Linked DNA regions of Homo sapiens: region 1 is linked to region 2. Evidence: promoter capture Hi-C in 16 types of primary human blood cells and fetal thymus (Javierre and others, 2016). All regions are on one chromosome and are shown on one strand. Each heading gives the region's core, a stretch centred on a gene start or on the middle of the fragment in contact. The rest is flanking DNA. Distances are from core to core; before and after follow the strand shown. Region 1 overlaps COPG1 (coat protein complex I subunit gamma 1). Region 2 holds the start of ACAD9 (acyl-CoA dehydrogenase family member 9).

Evidence for each region. The method cuts DNA at HindIII sites, captures the fragments that hold promoters and counts their contacts. A CHiCAGO score of 5 or more calls a contact.
Region 1: a fragment that was not itself captured here is called in contact with the fragment with the promoter of ACAD9 in region 2 in 3 of 17 cell types (naive CD8 T cells, non-activated CD4 T cells and naive CD4 T cells); the score reaches 5.9 in naive CD8 T cells.

Annotation. Positions count from the first base shown.
Region 1 is chr3:129,250,516-129,253,722 of GRCh38, reverse strand. COPG1 (coat protein complex I subunit gamma 1) reads right to left here. Exons shown (of 24, transcript NM_016128.4): 2 at 2,989-3,041; 3 at 1,362-1,442; 4 at 1,029-1,100; 5 at 768-847. Among named protein-coding and RNA genes, the nearest start is that of COPG1, 2.5 kb to the right of the region's middle. The HindIII fragment of the contact is 221 bases long and covers 1,350-1,570 here.
Region 2 is chr3:128,877,941-128,881,127 of GRCh38, reverse strand. ACAD9 (acyl-CoA dehydrogenase family member 9) reads right to left here and starts at 1,508. Exons shown (of 18, transcript NM_014049.5): 1 at 1,287-1,508. The coding sequence starts at 1,436. ACAD9-DT (ACAD9 divergent transcript) reads left to right here and starts at 1,692. Exons shown (of 3, transcript NR_186174.1): 1 at 1,692-1,992. RefSeq lists enhancers at 82-933, 1,242-1,321, 934-1,786, 1,382-1,931, 1,787-2,638. The HindIII fragment of the contact is 10,907 bases long and covers 1-3,187 here.

The DNA of each region.
Region 1 (3,207 bases), core at 211-2,710, 370 kb before region 2:
ATGAGCCACTGCGCCTGTCCTGTCCTACTATTTCTTACTCATCCTTCAGGACTCCACTTAGATCATTCCTCTGGGAGGACTTTCGTAATTCTAATCAAGCTGGATGCTCTTCTGGTCTGCTCTCATAGCCCATAATACTTCCGTGATAAACTATATTACACCCTACCTTAATGGCCTGATGCCTGGTTATTTCTCTGTAAATTCTGGGGCTACAGAGGCCATGTCTATCTTTTTTGTTGCTATATCCCCAGAGCTACACACAGGGACTGACAGACAATATTTTCTAACTGAACCTACAAATCAATGTATGACCCCCACAACCTTAAACTGTGGCAGGAAGAAATAAGAGAACTGAGCCCCAGTTCTTAAGGGCAGTGATTACACTTTAGTCACATCTGTCCCTGAATTGCTTAGCTTAAAGCAGACACCAGTCACTTAGTAAGCAGTATACCGCTTGTACTCTCTTGTTTATTTTTCTTGTGTTCTCTCTTTATACTCAAGAAAGTCTTTGGGAAAGTTCTAAGCTGGTTTGGTTGACTAAGAGAAATCAAGAAAAGGAAGCATTTGTGTCCAAGTCAAGGTCAGAGAATTAAAATAGAAACAGCACACCTGGAGGCTGCCATGGGGTGGGCAGTGGTAACAGGGAAGCTGCCACGGGGTGGGCAGCTGGCAATATGCAACCAAGTCTCACTGTCTGGTACACACAAGAAAAAAATGGTCTGTCAATGGAACCCATCAGAAGAGCCACCCACAACCCCATGACTTGCCTGCTGGTGACAATGATGACATCCTCTGCAATGCAAGACATCTCCTTGATGGTCAAGTAGCACATCCGACGGAGTGTGGGCTGGGAGATAGGTGGGAAAAGCCCTATCAGCCCGGGCTCACCAAGGGCCAGAGTTGGGAGAAGATACCTCCTGTCTCCACAAAGGCAGCCCACACTGACTGGTGGGGCCAGCTCTCTTTGGCCCTCCCACCACCTTGTTACAGCTGCCACCTCTCAAGGAAAGCTGGGTTGAGGCACTTACATCATTGGACTGAAAGAGCTTGGTCATGGCAAAGAAGGCCTCGGTCGCTTCCGTGGTCCCCAGGTGCTCCCCCTGTGTTAATCAAGAAAGAAGTCTCAGCTTGGGACAGAGGGTCAGACAGCAGTTCTTTCAGGATCAGCCCACACCAGATCCCCAGACCCTAAAGAGGCTCAAGGGCAACATATGAGACTTGGATGCTGAGGGGACCCAGAGCTGAGCTGTTGTCTACAGCCACACAGAGGCTGTCCAATAGCCTAAGAGTGATCATGATTTGTCCACTCCCCTCCAATCCCCCAGCACCATTCTCCCTACCCGCAAGCTTCACCCTGTTACCTGGTTTATGAGATAAAGAATCTTGGTGAGGATGTGGGCACATTTCCGAGGGTTGATGGGAGTTTCATTAAATACACGGGCCTAAGAAGAAATGACCAAAGATGTTACCTTCTAGCCTAGTTCATTTCCCTTCAAGTATATTCAATGTCTGAGAAGTCTCAGGGTAAACTGACTTGTCTAAACAGGGCTTTCTGGGTATGCAACAAGCTTATTTTCATAAGGAAAGGGTTTGTTTTTCTTTAATCAACTACTAATTATTCTTAGACTCTCGTGTAAATATTAGTTAGGGATGTGCTAACCTATTGACTAGCAGATACTTAGCAACCATCTGCTAACTGGAAACAGAAACAATGAACGACAACAATAAAGAAAGAAGCGGCTGGACGCAGTAGCTCACACCTGTAATCCTAGCACTTTGGGAGGCCGAGGCGGGTGGATCACCTGAGGTCAGTTCGAGACCAGCCTGGCCAACATGGTGAAACCCCGTCTGTACTAAAAATACAAAACTTAGCCAGGCATGGTGGTGGGCACCTGTAATCTCAGCTACTCGGGAGGCCGAGGCAGGAGAATTGCTGGAACCCAGGAGGCGGAGGTTGCAGCAAGCCAAGATCATGCCATTGCACTCCACCCCAGGCTGACACCAGCAAGTCTCCATCTCAAAAAAAAAAAGAGAAGTGGCCGGGCGCGGTGGCTCACGCTTATAATCCCAGCACTTTGGGAGGCCGAGGCGGGAGGATCAAGAGGTCAGGATTCACACCATTCTCCTGCCTGGCCAACATCGTGAAACCTCATCTCTACTAAAAATATAAAAATCAGCCAGGCATAGTGGCGTGCGCCTGTAGTCCCGGCTACTTGGGAGGCTGAGACAGAAAAATTGCTTGAACCCAGGAGGCAGAGGTTGCAGTTGAGCCGAGATCGTGCCACTGCACTCCAGCCTGAGCAACAGAGTGAGACGCCTTCTAAAAAAAAATACATATATATATATATATAAAAAATATATATAATAAAAATAAACAAGTCATGCAAAATCTCTACCTGCATAATGGCCACAGTCTAGCTTAGGTGATAGTTTTAAACCAGTTTCCTTAGCTTTGGAATTAACTTTAAATAGAGAAATTTTTTAAATGTTTAAATAGAGAGGCCAGGCGCGGTGGCTCAAGCCTGTAATCCCAGCACTTTGGGAGGCCGAGGCGGGTGGATCACGAGGTCAGGAGATCAAGACCGTCCTGGCTAACGCGGTGAAACCCCGTCTCTACTAAAAATACAAAAAATTAGCCGGGTGTGGTGGCGGGCGTCTGTAGTCCCAGCTACTTGGGAGGCTGAGGCAGGAGAATGGCGTGAACCTGGAAGGCGGAGCTTGCAGTGAGCCGAGATCACGCCACTGCACTCCAGCCTGAGCGACAGAGCAAGACTCTGTCTCAGAAAAAAAAAAAAAAAAAAAAAAAAAAAGAAGTAAGCATAACTAACTCTCTCCAGAAACAAAGTTTTCCTGTCTTCCAGAAAACTTCCAGGCACAAGTTTTCTCCCGTGTTGCTCTTTAAAACAACACTTTGAATGTGTTGGTATTTCAGTTGCATTGGTGGTGAATATTTATGATGGAAGCTAGAGGGGAGCAAATGTCACTTGCCTCCTGGAGTACCGCACTCTTCTCAAGGTGCTGGAATGGGTTGGAGCCTCCACCTACGGTCAAGGACAATGGAGAAGGTAGGTTGTGACTCTGAACTTCAAAACTCTCCCAGACATAGGTAAAGGGAAGATGTCCCTTCCTAGGAAATCTAGTAAAGTTCAAACTCCTCAGGAATGGCAATCAAGCCTCTACAATCTGTCTAGGGATCCTACTAGTCTC
Region 2 (3,187 bases), core at 259-2,758:
TCTTAGCTTCTTCATCTGTAAAGTTGCTTGCTATAAAGGTATCAGCCTGACAACCTCAGAGGAACGTTCCAAAGAGAAGCCAGGGAATAACTTCTGTGATACAGGATCAGCCAACATTCAGCCAAGTTCAAAGTAGGGCACCTCGACGAAATAGCAAGTATACTGTTGGTTTCCTTAGAAGATAAAATGAAATACAAAGGAAAGAGCAAGAAATGTGTTTATTCCTATTTTGTAGATGAATGCACTGAGGCACAGGGAGGTGCAGCCGTCAGCTCCAAGGTCACAAGACTAAGTGTTGAAGCCAGCTCTCTCTTCTGCTGCACAGTACTCTACAGTTTAAGAAGACTCTCCATGCACCGTTTATCTCACTGGGGCTCTACAACACATCTGTGAAGGAGACACAACACTATCTCCATTTTAAGGCTGAAAGAACTGAGTCTTGGCCGGGCGCGGTGGCTCACCCCTGTAATCCCAGCACTGTGGGAGGCCGAGGTGGGCGGATCACCCGAGGTCAGTTCTAGACCAGCTTGGCCAACATGGTGAAACCCCGTCTCTGCTAAAAATACAAAAAAAAAAAAAGCCGGGCAGGCGCCTGTAATCCCAGCTACTCCGGAGGCTGAGGCAGGAGAATCGCTTGAACCCAGGAGGGAGGTTGCAGTGAGCACTCCAGCCTGGGCGACAAGAGCGCGACTCTGTCTCAAAAAAAACAACTGAGTTTCAAAGTCAACGAGCCAAGACCAAACCCAAGTCTTCCAACTCTAAGAAGACAATGAGTGTTTTATAACCAAACTGTTACTATTGGCTGGGTTGTGCCACCCTTGGGAAGCATCTTGGAGCCAGATTTCTGAGGAACCTCAATGGCAGGGAGAGGCGCTGGGCTCACCTGGGGAAGGAAGCCCCAGGGCGCTGGAAGGTGACTGAGGAGGGACATGGTGTAAGCTGTTTAGGAATCAGAGAGGAAGCCCCGCACATTTCCAGACCAGACCAGCTGAGATGAAGGCTGCTTTGTTAATTACCTAGCCTAGAGTTTTCCGAATTCCCCTGACAAAATTTAGCTGGAACACGTCACCACCACATTTCCAAGGGTCCCCCGTCTTGGAAATGTCTCACCCTTTCTCTGGGAAGGTTTTCCTGGAACTCAGGAATCCGGAGTGTTAACACGCCTCGGCCGCAGGGTGTATCTCTCTGGCAGGTTTGGGGAATCTCACAAAGTTCAACACCAGTCTTGCAGCTGAGGGTGAAAAGCGGGAGCCAGACAGCAAGGGTTCGCCCAGGGCTCGCGTTACCTTCTTGATTTTGCCTAGGAAAAGCTCTTTGGCGAAAGCTCGTACAGGCGGGCTGGTGCGCAGTAGCCGCCGGTTCGCGGTAGAGACCACCAGACCCCGGCAGGCACGAGCCGCAGCCGTGGTGCGCAGGAAGAGCCCGCAGCCGCTCATGCTGCCCGATGTTCCCCAGCCTCAGCCTCAGTCTCCCCTTCTTAGCGCCGCAGGGACACACACACGTCTGATGACGTTACTGGCCCGCGACAACGTGCAGTACTCACTGCGCTTGCGCGGTCCCCCGCAGCAGGGGATGGAGAGGCCAGAAGGGCGGGAAGGCTACCACCTGCCGCGCCCAAGGCCTTAGTCACGTGCACCTGGCTGGCCCGCGCCGCCTGATGACGTCACACGCCTACGCTTCCCGCCGGCCCCACTGCGCTTGCGCGGCCAAAGGAGCTGGCCGGAGGAAATTGTAGGCCCTGGGCCGCGGGCATCTCGGCGGGTATAATCTCTGGCCGTCGTGACGGCGGTGACGGACCTGTTTTTCACATACCAGCGGTTGTTTCCATAAATGCCAGCCATGGGAAATCTCCCTGTGTACAGAAACCTAAAGGCCGGCTCAGCTGCCTCCACTTGTCTCTTTTGTCACTTGTGGCCACGAGGCCGTGGTAAAACTTGAGAAAAGCAAAAGAATGAGGGAAATGCGCTGTATTGGGGTCTCTGCAGGGGCACGGTAAGGGTAAGGGTCCATTTTTAACTGGATGGTGGATTCCTGAGATACTGTTTTGTTCCTAGTTGACATGTATGTTACATATATTTTTTGGAAAAGGAAAAGAAAGTGGGTGTTCAGTCACAGAGCGGTCTGGATACAACTGAGTCACCTCTGTCCTGGGAAACACTAACTTAAAAGGCAGGCGGAGGAAGAGAAACTACAGAGAGAGCTGAGAAGAGATGGGAACTATTGGATGGGATGGGACAGGCCAGGCTGTAACCGCCCAAGGTTACAGCCCGCTGACTAGACAGCTGATTTATCAAGACGGAAATTGCAATAGAGAGAGAGTAATTCACGCAGAGCCGGGTGTGTTGGAAAGGGAGTTTTATTAGCCAAATCGGTCTCCCCAAAAACGGATCGGAATTTTTAAGGATAATTTGGCGAGTAGAAGCTCGGGAAGTGGGAGGTGCATGATTGGTCGGGTTGGAGATGGACTGATAGGGGGCCGAAGTGAGTTTTTCTTGCTGTCTTCTGTTCCTGAATGGGATTGCAGAACTAGTTGAGCCAGATTACCAGTCTGGGTGTTGGTAGGTTTTACAACAGTGATGTTATTCCCAGGAACAATTTGGGGGACGTTCAGACTCTTGCAACCAAAGGCTGTATGGCCTCTAAACTGTAATTTCTAATCTTATAGCTAATTTGTTAGTCCTCCAAAGGCCAACTGGTCCCAGGCAAGAAGAGGTTGTTTTTTGTTGTTGTTGTTGTTGTTTTCCCGGGAAAGGGCTATTTTTGTTTTGAAGTTAAACTATAAACTCATTCCTTCCCAAGGTTAGTTCAGCCTACGCTCAGGAATGAACAAGGACAGCTTGGAGGTTAGAAGCAAGATGGAGTTGGTTAGGTCAGATCTCTTTCATTGTCTCGGTTATAATTTTGCAGTGGCGGTTTCAAGGCCAGGCCATAGGGGCCCACGTAGGAGGCAGGGCATGCCTGGCACCTCACAGCCCAACAGTGCTCTGAACGTGGCACATGGGCCCTCTACAGATCTTCAGCCAGCTCCTCCAGGAAGAATGCCACTCTGCTTTTTCACCCAGACCGGTAATCTGGCTCAACAAGTTTTGCAATCCCACCTAGGAACAGAAGACAGCAAGAAAAACTCACTTCAACCCCCTATCATTCCATCTCCAACCCAACCAGTCAGCACTCCCCACTTCCCGAG